3 separate regions of the Homo sapiens genome follow, and regions 1 and 2 are each linked to region 3. Evidence: promoter capture Hi-C in 16 types of primary human blood cells and fetal thymus (Javierre and others, 2016). All regions are on one chromosome and are shown on one strand. Each heading gives the region's core, a stretch centred on a gene start or on the middle of the fragment in contact. The rest is flanking DNA. Distances are from core to core; before and after follow the strand shown. Region 1 holds the start of TCEAL8 (transcription elongation factor A like 8). Region 2 overlaps BEX4 (brain expressed X-linked 4). Region 3 holds the start of RAB9B (RAB9B, member RAS oncogene family).

Region 1 (4,240 bases), core at 630-3,129, 580 kb before region 3:
CTGCTGCAGACTGGAGTGGAGGGACAAAGTCAGAAGTGTTGCTTGGGCCAACCCTTTAACATCCTGTCTGAGCACCACCCTCTGGGGGCTGTGCGGAGGATTTATCCTTTCTCGTAAAACTGGTTCCGGTGAACCTGGAACTTTATCTCACTCCAGCTAGAATTCCAGTTTGACTAGCGCCTATCAGGCTGCCATCACCTTGAAGAATGGTCTGGAGACATGAAGATTCCCTGCAAATGACATCATACAGTGAAAAAATAGAAACAGAAGAAAGCCAAGGGCGCAGGGTTGGCTCAATTATTTTTTGAGATGATTACTAAAAGAGAATTTTGAATTTATTTCTGATACATTTTACTCATATTGGAAGGAGGCAATGCATGGCTAAACATGGTGTTCAGTCAATAAAAAGGCATCTTATGTTACATTCCTCCCCCTAGCTTTTTATCTTGTCTTTGTTAACACGAACCTTTTAAATTTTATGTATAGATGTGTCCATCTTTTCCTTTAAAAATTCATACTTAAAACAATAAATGCTTGTATAGGCCTTCTATTTCCTGAATGTCAGTAAGCACTCACCAAGATTTCCTGCCAATTATTTTATAGTTAATATTTGTAATAATGAAAAGCATACTGTATTACTAGTGGTTCTCATTCTTCAGTCCATATCATTATCACCTGGAGGAGTTTGCAAGCTATAATTTTACAGTCTACCTCCAGAATGTGGGTCAGTGGGCCTTATGTGGGGCCCAGACATCAGCATTTTCAAGATGCTCCCCAGCAGATTCTGATGCAGGTGATTATGTGAGATACTTTTATAATAAAACATTTAGAGTACAATCAATTCTCTGCCCTGTTTCTTCTTGGAATTGCTTGTCATAACTCTAGAGAACTAAAGACTTGTAGATTATTCAGCGAGTAACCTAATTTGGACAAACCTACTAGCTCTTAGTAGCAATCAAAAAATCAATTAAATATTAAAACACAATGTGCCAGTTAAACACATACAAGTATTCATATGTGGGATACCAAGAGGAAGAGACAGTCTTTGCTTGTTCTACAGGGGAAATATAATCTCTAACATTTATATAGTAGCATTCTACTTCAAGTACATTTACAAGGTTCTTACTGACTTTGAAAGTTTTTTTTAACCACAGGTCAACAGAAGAGATGGAATTAAGGGGACTGTTCCTTAGATCTGTTCCCTGCATCACTTTGTGCAATTTATATATGTTCCCCAGCAGTCTTCCGAACCAGTAAGTCAGGCCTGCCCAGGAGCCTTCAGGAAGAGATCATCCCACGAGGACAAAACCTCATTCCTTAGACTTAGAGCAAAAACTGTGATTACAACAGGTCTTTGACTCAAACTTATACCCCAGTCCAAATCCCAAATGGAGTCATCACATCTGACTCCTATGGAGAAGAAGGGTCTTGTGATTGAAAACAGAAGGGTTATTTTGCTAAGGGCTCTGAAAGACCTTGTGGCCCAAGCAACCCTAGAGAAGTCCCACCTGTGTTAAGTGTCACTATAAAGCAGAGAGAAGCTTTAGAAGACAGTGAAAGTTCAACCTACTGAGGACTCCAGGGAACTCGGTGGGGTTTTGGCCCTCAAGGACTGCAGTGCATCAGCAGTAGTGGGGCCAGCAGGGAGCACAGCACTCAGCAGAAGAGGCAGCAGTGTTGGGCAGGCATGGCAGGAACCAGGGGAAGAGACAGGGTTCAATAGCAGAGGACTGATAGGTAAGCCCCCACCTCTGCCTACTGGACTTGATCCTGAGTACAAGTTGCATCATGCCAGGCCCTCCCTTAAATATTGGTGCTTCTATAGTGGGTTGGGATTCCGTATGCACAGGTGGGAACAAGATCTCACTGAGCACAGCTGTTACTGCCTCATTTCTTCCCCACTGCAGCCCTGTGAAGCAAATATTTTCCCCATGAAAAGACTGAGTCTTAAACGTGTGTATCTGTAATAATTGCCAGTTTATTCCTCTGGCTAAGAGATCCAGAGGTAATTTGAGGTTTACATTTCTTTTTAAAGTTCTTTCATCAAGAGTTTAGGTGCCCCCATTGCCCTCATAAGCTGGTTGCAAATTATTTGACTCTTACTTGTAAAAAAAATCCTTAATTCTTTTTGTGTGTGAGACACGTGTTCATTAAAAAGTACATATAAGCAAAAAGAACAAAAAGAAGAAAACAAATAAAATTTCACACCACACAGAAATAAGCTTGGTTAAGTTTGTGATATATGTTATATGGATGTATGTATACACACACGCACACACACAAAGTTTGGAATTTTATCCTACATATGTGAGCTGATATTAAATATGCTGCTTTGCCATAACCTGTTATGTTTTACTTTACAACATGGAATGAACATATTCCCATGCAAATGTGTGAAAGTTTCCAATTGAAAAATAGACCTGGAAAATGGGTCAAAATCCAAAATCCAATGAGATGCTGGTACCAAGGAAATTACCTAAAACAAAATTTCATCAGATGATTAAAAGTAAAATGGAGGTCAAAGATACATCAGAAAATGCTAACAGAAAGAAAGCTGGGGCCAGATTTTAATATTAGGCAAAAATGAATTCAAGGCCTAAAGCACACAGGATAAGGACGGCTGCGTGAATGTCTTTGCTTCCAATGCATCATCACAAACTTGTTTCTTACTCTTCTTATCTCTTCCCTAAGCCTTTCAAGCTCATCTACTCCTCTTATCATTTCTTCAGGGTCCAAATGCCTAACGGGTGTGTCCTCTTTAAATCCCTGGCCAGGCTGATTCGGCCCTCCTCTGGGGTTTCCTTCTGCTTCCTGGCTTACGCCTTCTTCGGAAGGTTGAGGATTTCCTTCTGCCTCCTGTGGTACATCCTCCAAAGGGCGATCTTCCTCGGCCTTTGGCATGTTCTGTGGTTTTCCCTCATTTTCTTCACAAGACTTTTGCATATTGAGTATTTTTTATTTCCTTTTTGAATAAATTAATCCTAGAAAACAAGGAAACAAAACTACTAGATTCCAGGCAAACAGACCAGCAGTCAGAGTATGGGGTCCCATAGCGACTGGCCTTTTTTGACTCAGTACCCTAATTGTCAAAAGTTTTCCAACTAGAGAAAGCTGGATCCTCAGGCTCAGAACTCCCCTGACTCCACCTCCCTTCGCGCCCCCTTTCGTTCCAGCTCCATCTTTCTCCTCCTGCTCCTGCCCACCATCTTCCCAGCAGGCCCTGCTACAAGCCTCTCCTAATACTGAAATGGGAGCAGTACGGAAGCAATTAACCCTTCTCCCGCCTCTGGTCTCCAACACTCCCGCCCTTCAGACTTTCCCAGGCCCTCTCAACCTCCAGCCTCTCACCTGAGACGGCTGGTCCAGTCTCTGGCCTCCCCTCCCCCTTCAGCGTCTCTTAAGCCTCCTCCTCCCCCGCCTCATTTCCGCTGCAGGCTCGGCACCGGCCTCTGGCACTTAATCCGGATGGGGAGGGGCTGCTGCGACCCCAGGATGTGCTTTGGTGTCACTCACACTTCCACCCCCACCCGAAGAGACCTGAAGCAATTGCACCTTTACAAAAACTGACCTGCAGGGATTCAGGGGATTTTCCTCTCTCTTCCCTCACCTCGATTTGTGTCGCGCCCAAAAAACCAAATATCCTGCAGACAGATGGGAGTGTTTGGTGAGCAGACTAGTACCTGGATCACGGGTCCCTTTCATGATTCTAGGCCATGTTGGTGTAAAGTTTCCCATGTCCTCATCCTCGCCCTCCTTTTATGGCAACCCCGCCCTCCTCCGTGCCCACCGTTTTTCTGCAAGCAGGGAGTAGGAAAAGCAAGTTTCTTCCAAACAGTTTCTATGTCTCTCTCTCAGGACCCTTAATTAGCTACCCTTCTCTCTCTCCACCCGCCATCCCCCACCAAACAGCCCCAAATTTCCTGCACAAAATGGGAGTTTGGCGGAACAGAAGTGGGGAAAGCAGTGCCGGCCCCGCTTGCTTTCTGCTCTCGGCCTCCTCGACCCCAGGGTCTCCAAGTCAGCGCCCACGTTTATACTAACCTGAAAGGATCTTGGGCACTTTTCTCCTTCTCCAGCAATAAGGAGCTGCTACAGGGAAACAGGCCCTGGACTATAAGGACTTCTGCACACGTCGACTCCTGGTCACGTGAGAGTCGCGTCATCACTGAGCTCGAGTCCCCAGTTACCCCTCCCATTAACACTGCAGCCCGCCCGCTGCGTTCCCTCCACTTGATACTGT
Region 2 (4,234 bases), core at 1,407-3,906, 610 kb before region 3:
CCCGGCGGGGGGTCCCTGGGGTTGGTGTGAGGGAGTGGCTCCGGCCTGCGGATGCCCACCCCGGGGGAGCCGTGCGGAGAAGCAATCGGTCCGCGATGCAGCCCCCGGGCCCCGCGGCGGGCCCGCGAGCCTTCCTTGAGCGGAGAGGTGCCCGGCCCGGAGGGAGCCGGCGGTCCTGGGGCTACGACCCTTCGGAAACACCTGCCTACGCCATCAGCGCAAGCTTTTCCGACACCCCTGCCCCGCACTTCTTGGTGCAGAAAATGGTGGTCAGCTTGCGGGGCGGGGCGGCTGAGGCGGGGGGCGAGGGTGGCGAGGAGGGCCAGGGCCAGGGCCAGGGCCAGGGCCTCGGGGCGGGGCGGGGGAGGGGCCGGATGGCGGTAGTTCCTAGCTAGCGTTCTGCTGCAGCAGCCCCCACTTCCCCCACCCCGGCAGTCTGCAGGTCTGCGGGGCTAAGTGTCGCGGCGGCGCACCTCGCGTCAAGAATCCGGAGGAGGAGACTGCAAGGATAGGCCCAGGTCGGTGCGAGGGTCGGTGGTGAGGCGGGGGCCGGAACGTGAGGAAAGCCCAGTCTGAGACCCTAATCCATGCCTTCACCCTCGCCCCCCTCTACCCCATGCAACCCTCCCCTTCCCACACGCCATCCTCGTCCTCCATTTTGCTGCCTGCGGAAGCCTGGAGATGGATCTACAGGGAAAATGGTGGGCTTTGCGGAAGGGAGGGGCTCGGATTGAGGGCACCCCACAGGGCATACTGGCTTCTCAGGTGGAAAAAAATGAAATGTTAGAGTATAAAGTCAAGTCCAGGGCTCTGAATTTTAAAAGGTGCCTAGTAGGGCCTCTGTCCTCAGTGCTTATCAGTCCACCAAGAATTCAGCCCATTTTCTCTCTCTTGTCTCCTAGGAGTAATGGAGTCCAAAGAGGAACTAGCGGCAAACAATCTCAACGGGGAAAATGCCCAACAAGAAAACGAAGGAGGGGAGCAGGCCCCCACGCAGAATGAAGAAGAATCCCGCCATTTGGGAGGGGGTGAAGGCCAGAAGCCTGGAGGAAATATCAGGCGGGGGCGAGTTAGGCGACTTGTCCCTAATTTTCGATGGGCCATACCTAATAGGCATATTGAGCACAATGAAGCGAGAGATGATGTAGAAAGGTTTGTAGGGCAGATGATGGAAATCAAGAGAAAGACTAGGGAACAGCAGATGAGGCACTATATGCGCTTCCAAACTCCTGAACCTGACAACCATTATGACTTTTGCCTCATACCTTGAATCCTAAAAGTTTTCGCTGAGGTTAATGTGAACACTGCTTTACAAGCTTGTATTTTTGTGATTTACTTTTTCTGTAAGCCTTTTGGGGTTTACACTTACCAGTTTCTAATGGAAATTAGAATTCTAATTGAATATTGTTTTGTCTCAGCCTAAAAGTTACGGTCAGCATGGCAATTCACCTATTTTAGGAAAAATACTCTTTTCATAATATGAAATGCATAAAGCAGTTCAAAAAGCAGTCTGTATTCCATCATCTTCCTTTTTCATTCCAGTCCTTATTTTTGTAAGTATTACTTTTCCTCCTCCGGCTACCTGGACTCAAAATCTCAGTTGTCTTTGACAGTTTTTTTCTTGTCCCTGACCAAAAAAGAATGATCATACCCAGAATTCAATGTTTGATATTTTAAGAATGTATGTTCTAGTGTTTTTCAGAGTGAGTCTACCATCTGTATAAAAACACCTTGGGGGCAGGCAGGGGCATTTAAAAATGTAGGACCTATCGTCCAGACTCACAGAGTGGGGCTCCAGAATCTCCATTTTTAACAAACTCTCTTAAGTAATTCTGATGTGTACCAAAATCAGTGCCATTGGTGTGTGTGTACGTAACTATATACATATGTGTGTGTGTGTATATATATAATGTGTCATAACCGTAAACAATAAACAATATCAAGATAAATCTGACTTTGATGGGCAAGTAATTAAAAAAGAAAAGTATGAGACCTTAAAATAAGACTGATGATTATAGGAGTGGTAGGGACAGTGGCAAAGTTATTCACTGTGCAAAGCAAAACATGCCTGAAGGTCACAGCCTGAGGAACTCAGAATTCATCACCCCTGTCAGCAGTTTCACATCCAGGATCTCATTTTATTCTTAGAACAACCTATAAAATCTGTATTGTTATCCCACTTTTACAGATGAGGTCACTGGGGCTTAGAGATGTTAAGTACCAAGGCTAACTCCTGCTGAATATCTTGGGGGTGGGGGAATCCAGCCTGGGCCATTTTCTATTGGACCTTATCATCTGGAGATGCAGAATATTTGACTTTTGTAACTTGATGACAAGCTGAGGATGGTAAAAGAGACTCAGCAAGAATGGGGCTGTTTTTCTATACACTGTTTTTCTACATCTCAAGTACACTTTAATTTTTAGAATATTGAGGGATAAAAAAAGTAAGATCCTCTAGTGTTGTTCAAAGTTAGGATTGCCACTCTATGGCTCTTGAAATCAGTTTTGTGGGTTACAACAAGCAATTTTTTAAAAAGAGAACAAAAGTCATCCTATCACCCGTGAGTAGTGTTAAGAATTGTTTTGGAGAAAATAATGTGTTCTATGTAGTAAATATTGCCACCTTTATGATGTATTTCTAACTAGATCACAGTGAAAAAAGAATGAAAATCACTTATTTGGTGCAAACTTGGTTTCACAAGTGAAGAATTGTTAAGAAAGCGATTTTTCCTAAGGTCATACAGCCAATTAGTGAAAGCTGTGACCACAGCCTTGGTGCTTCAGGGTGCTTGTCTTCTCACCACATTGCCTCCACAAAGAATTATTTGGAAATTTTTGCATTATGTACTGATTGCCAATCAGTGTAAATGGAAAAGCATATACAACTTATGCAAAAATCACTTTATATGAACTTCACACTATTTAGTCATCAGAATTCCTGCATGTTCAACTGAGAACCACATTTAAGGGAAACTCTGCCTCAGATAATTTTGGAGCTGGAGTGATCTTTCACCTGTCTAGAGGAAGAGGATGATATAGAGTCTGATTTGAAAATGCACAGTGGTGAACTCAGGCACTTCAAAAAGGCTAGTTGACTGAGTAGAGTCCATGAATGATCTTTTGGTTCCTCTGAAAATGAGTACTATGCCTTCTGGCAAAGACCAATTGTGGATTTCCCAAAGTAGCCTCAATCTACCTCCCTCACAAAAAAAGCTAGCTGTGGGGGTGTGAGATCAGAACATGATTAGTTGAAAGAAAGCTGAAGCCTCCTCACTGGGGTTTTTGGGGGAGAATGAGGAATAAGGACAGACTTTCTGGAAGAAATAAAAGTGTCAATGCTTGGGTTCAGAATATGGTTTTTTGAAGTACCAAAATGAGCCCTGTCTCCTTGGTGTTTCTGGGAGAGTGGGATGATAAGAACAGAATTTGCTGGAAATGGTAAAGGTCAGGGAACGGGGTCACAATGTAATTGGTTGAAGGAGAACTAAATTAAGACTCCTATCGTGGGAGTTTCTGTGATGGTAGGCGACGAGCACAAAACTTTAGAGGACATAACGTTCAGTGACCAGAACATGATCAGGAGCGTGATTGAAGAACTGAAGAAAACTCCCTTACCTCTGTGTTGCTGCAAGGGTGGAGGAGTAAAGAGAGAACTTTCTAGAAAAAGCTAGAGGGGGCTGGATCAGGTGACTGAAGAAGAACAGAGCTATCACAGCGAACACATTTATACATCCCATGGGAGGGTCAACTTTCCTTGATCTTGGTGGGCAATACATTTTGTCTTTTTAAGGTGACAACAGAGAGATGTCAGTGAATGCCTCTAAAGAGACTAGCAAGAAAGTATAATGACTCTTTTATAAAAACCAACAAAAGCAAATAAACCAAGAGTGAAGAAAAAGGGCTAACACATTCATCCCTATCAGTGGTTTATACATTCATATTTGTAAAATTTTAGTTTCTTGAGGAAAATGTGCATGTTTTTATGGATTTTGGAGCAAAGCTTGGGAAGGATGCCTGTCAACTAATGCCTGGCAAATCTTCCAGAACTTAAGAGGAGAAAGACTGACAAGACCTCTGAGAAGAGGAGAGTCAGTCTAATCTTACACAGCAGCATATGCTGCTGTCTTCATATTACAGAAATTGGAGATATCACTGAAGAAGTCTTTAAAAAGGCCAGTGTTATGGACCGAATATTTGTGTCCCTCCTAAAATTAAAATGTTGAAAACCTAATTC
Region 3 (4,305 bases), core at 246-2,745:
TGGGAATGCTTAGAGGTGGGAGTGGAGGTGGGGGAGGAGGCAGTACAATGAAGAAAAAGAAGTTGAACCTTTGAAAATAGTACATTTTAGTATGATGATGGAGAGAAGAGAGGCAGAAAAGCAAATTCGCATCAGTTCAGTTGCCATGGAGTGGAATGATGCTCAAAATCAGTAGTGCAGATTGCTCGGAGGCAAGTCTTGAAAGGGATGTGTACTGCAGGGATCGATAGGGGAAGAGCAACTGGGGAGGGCTAGGCACTGGATGAGAGTGGCACTGTTGGAAGTCTGTACAGGGGAGGAGCCATGGTTGGACCTGTGGGGAAAGCCCATCTTGTGGCGACACACTGGTAAGGGCTACTCAACTCACTGTTGAATGCTGGCACAATAATTGGAAATATTGCACTGAAGAATTGGGCGCGGCTATATTTATGTAAAATTCAACACGGATGAGAAATGATTGAATGTTTGAGTGTGTTTCCAATACAACCCAATACTTGGCGTTGGTGCTGGTGGTGGGTGCTTCGTAGCGCGGAAACCCTCTGACGCACTGGATTCATTTTGCAGAGCTAACAAGTTATCAGCTACATCCATGCCGACTCCAAATGCCACAGCTGTCATGCCACTGAAACGCTATTCCTACATTCATGCCCACATTTATATCCTATATGCAACTCAAAGGGTCCAATGTGGAGTCCCACATCTAACCTTTCACTGCTCACAACGACAGCTCTAGGGCTATAAGCCCAAAGGCACACTAGATAGCAATCTGGCATCGTCCCCAGGACACTTCTTCCTCAGTAGACTGCCCAGGGACAGATAGGTAGATAAGGTTTGGATGACATCAAGCGAGCTGAACACAAGGAAAAAAAGCTTCCTTGGGAGACAAGAATGCTGGCATCTCTACGACAGGGGCACTGTTAGCATTACGGACCTAGAAAGTGAGATGTCACACATAGTCCCAACTACCTCCGACCCAGGTCCTCTCACCTCACCCCCAGCTCTTAGAGCTAGTCGGCTGTGGCGCATGCGCACTGAGCCACACCCGCTCCCCACGGAGCCCTGCGCCTCTCTGCTCGGCTCTGGCAGCAGCTCGGGATTACTCAGCAACGCCCCCCTGCACTGTCACCTGCCCCCGACTCCGACCTCGGGAGCGGCTCAGTCCCTTTTCTCAAGCTACGAGTGGTCCTGGGGATCAACTAGACTTTCCTTTCTCCCTCTTCTCACAGGCCCCCCACCTCCCGGCCTTCCGGGTCCTCCAGCCCCTAGCCCCTGTTCCTGCCCACGCACAGGCACCTTACCCAACACAATGGGAAGGAAACAGGAGAGGGCCGCGGGTGCCAGGCAGGTCAGCTCTGCGTGCCGGGAATCCGGCTCCTTAGAGTCACCGTCACTGCTCCTGCTGCCTCCTCGTCCTCAATGGGGCAGCAAGTGCGGCTTGGACCTCGGTGGCCTGACAGCTGCCGCTCGCGCCCGCCGCTGCCGCCGCGCAGCGTCTCGAGCCCGCGCCCGCGCCCGCCAGGGGAGGGGGCGGGGCCCGCGCCGCCTCCTCGTGCCCCTTTCTCGGCGGTGGGGACCCGGTGTAGCCGCCTCCCGCCCTCCATGTGGCAAGCGCTCCCTGGCTCGCCCACTCTTCTTTCATGCTCATCGTCCAACCCTGGTCTCCCTTGTCCTCCTTCTCCTCCCCTAGCCGATTAGTAGGCACAGCGGCAATAGACCGTCAAATATTGCTCTTCCACTTAGCTCCTCTGCAGCCTGGGCCTAAGCCCTCAAGCAGGGCTAGCCACTGCCCCACTTCCTGCAATTATCCTCTGATCTACCTCATTTATCCTAGCTCAAAATCCTTTAATTTTGCCAAGAGGGTAGTACATACACCCTCTTGTTTCAAATAACTCAGGAAAACACATGATCACAACACATTGCTAGGCCCTCTAACTGGCTACAGCTTATGAAATTTTCAGGCAATTAAAAAAAATGTCCACATCTGTAGCGCAGGCATAGAGGACACACTGCCCTTTACTCTTACCAGATACAGTTCTAGAGGGCCACACAGGGGGCATTACTTGAATTTCCCGGAATTGCTGCTGGGGCAGAATTTGATGTTTTAATTGTGCCTAGCCGACCAGCTAGTCTCTTTTTGTTGTTTTCTGTAGCCCTCTGGTACTTCCAACTAGTTTGTGATTTTCCCCCTGGAATTGAAGAAGGACAAAGCTCCTGAGGTCATTTAGCCTGCACTCCACCTCTCTGTCAGGCAGCTCCATCTCTGAAGCTTCCCCATTGCCCGAAACCCTGTGACCTTGTGGCACAGGCCCTCACTCATCTCATGACCCCGTCCAGGCCCTCACACATACCCGCTACTTCCATCTAGGCCACTCTTCCTCTGTCTCTTGACAAGGCAATCGTGCAATCAATCTCCGCAGGCCCCAGCTTAAATGTCACTTCTCAGGATAACCTTTCTCGATAATCTCAGAATAGAGATGGTGCCCCAGTTTATACTCTTGTAGCCTCCTGTAACTTGCTGTATTTTTCCTTCATAACACTTACCCATTTTTGGTGGTACATTTAAGTGTATGATTATTTGGTTGACAGCTGTCTTCCCTACTAAACTATAGTGGGGAAGGACTATGAGGTCAAGGACAACGTTTGTGTTCACCACCGTATGCACAGAGCCTAGGGCAATGCTTGCTGCATAGGACATGCTCAGAAAATATTTGCTGAATATGAATGAATGCTGTATCACTAATAGTTGTTATATTTAAATAAAATAAATTGATGTAACTGAATCTCATGTGCTCCTATTTAAACCAACCCCGTTCCCCACACATACACTCTAAAACACTCTTCTGATGAAGACGAGATTCACACAATCCTCTAAATCAAATTTTCCGCATACATTTTAGTCTATTAAAAAACTATTGAGCATGGGCCCCAACATATGTATAAGGATTTATAGATTATATACATGTACTACTGTACATGTATACATTACACATTACTTTAAACATACATTTTAATGAGTAAACATTAAAATACTCCACAGAAATTTTAAAAGAATGAGAAAAATAAATATATTGATGTTCCAATGTTTTCTTTTTGCACCTCAATAAATAGTTTTGTGAAATGCTTTAAATAACAGTCCTTCATATTAGAGTAACTCGTCTTTAGGTGTAACAATCTAGACTACTTTTTCATTTTCTCATAGATGCCATTTTCCAACAGTTTAAAAATCTCTGAGAAACCCCCAAACCAACTGGCAAGTTTTAAGGATCTTTTAGTTTCTAAGCTACCTCGTTCTGTAGTCAGGATCTCACAACTGCTGAAAGCACCACACGTTTAGTGAATGTTGGAACACCTAAAGGTAAGAAAAATCCTTTGTTAGACCAAAGATTCCTACATGTAAATCCTATATTAAAAGAGTCTCTAGAGGCCACTTAAAAAGCAGCTACTATTATCTTTCTAGAATGGAAGCAACATGACTAACACTAGTTGTGAGGGATCAGCAAAAATGGACAGCACGAAGATTCAAAGTAACAGCTGTGGATGGTTTTGTGGCTCTCAGATGGGACTATTCCCAATGGTCAATCATTGAGATCTGTCAAATAGTGTCCTTCACACACAATAAAAATTCTATTTTTATAACACAGTTACACACACACACACACACACACAATAGAATCATAGTGTAGTCGGTAGATAGAAGGCCAAACCAAGATTGCGTTTGGATACCAGAGATAGGGTTACCTTCAGAGTCACACACACACACACACACACACACACACATACGCTCTTCAACATTCAATGAACAAGATCTCCCAAAGTCTCATCCTGATCAGTTTGAAATACATTGACCTGAGCTTCAGGAAGACATAATTGTAATGTGATTAATTTAAAAGAACAGCCTGGTCCAGCAGTCACAAGTTGTTATGTACAAGAGGGTTCCGTGAAGCATTCAAATAAGTGTATAAACACTGCATACTATTTCCCTTCCAGAAGAGTCACGTTGCATATTAAAACATTAACGTCTCTTGGAGTCCTGAAGTAAAGAAATCTGTTGTGTTGTTTTTCAATCTTACATTTCCAAAACTTTTGTGAACATGAATTTCTTTTGTTTATGGAACATCTATTAGCAGGACTAGAACAGCTCAGGACCCAATTTAGCAACTACTGTCCTAATCATTAATATTGAACATATTCATAGGCCAACGTATTTGTCATCTTTGTCCTAGAATATTTATGTGGCAACTATACACGTTATATTTTCCAGATAGTCCTGATTTCAAATACTTTGTCCTATTGTCCTAATTTTTA

What was found. The method cuts DNA at HindIII sites, captures the fragments that hold promoters and counts their contacts. A CHiCAGO score of 5 or more calls a contact.
Region 1: a contact is called between a fragment that was not itself captured here and the fragment with the promoter of RAB9B in region 3, in 1 of 17 cell types (naive B cells). The highest score is 6.3, in naive B cells.
Region 2: a contact is called between a fragment that was not itself captured here and the fragment with the promoter of RAB9B in region 3, in 2 of 17 cell types (fetal thymus and total CD8 T cells). The highest score is 8.1, in fetal thymus.

What each region holds. Positions count from the first base shown.
Region 1 is chrX:103,251,037-103,255,276 of GRCh38, forward strand. It overlaps TCEAL8 (transcription elongation factor A like 8), which reads right to left and starts at 4,119. Exons shown (of 3, transcript NM_153333.3): 1 at 4,042-4,119; 2 at 3,569-3,641; 3 at 1,959-2,981. The coding sequence starts at 2,943. The coding sequence ends at 2,590. RefSeq lists an enhancer at 4,056-4,105. The HindIII fragment of the contact is 681 bases long and covers 1,540-2,220 here.
Region 2 is chrX:103,215,247-103,219,480 of GRCh38, forward strand. It overlaps BEX4 (brain expressed X-linked 4), which reads left to right. Exons shown (of 3, transcript NM_001080425.4): 2 at 436-518; 3 at 903-2,000. The coding sequence starts at 908. The coding sequence ends at 1,270. Among named protein-coding and RNA genes, the nearest start is that of BEX4, 2.3 kb to the left of the region's middle. The HindIII fragment of the contact is 2,684 bases long and covers 1,315-3,998 here.
Region 3 is chrX:103,830,762-103,835,066 of GRCh38, forward strand. RAB9B (RAB9B, member RAS oncogene family) reads right to left here and starts at 1,496. Exons shown (of 3, transcript NM_016370.4): 1 at 1,299-1,496. The HindIII fragment of the contact is 1,396 bases long and covers 869-2,264 here.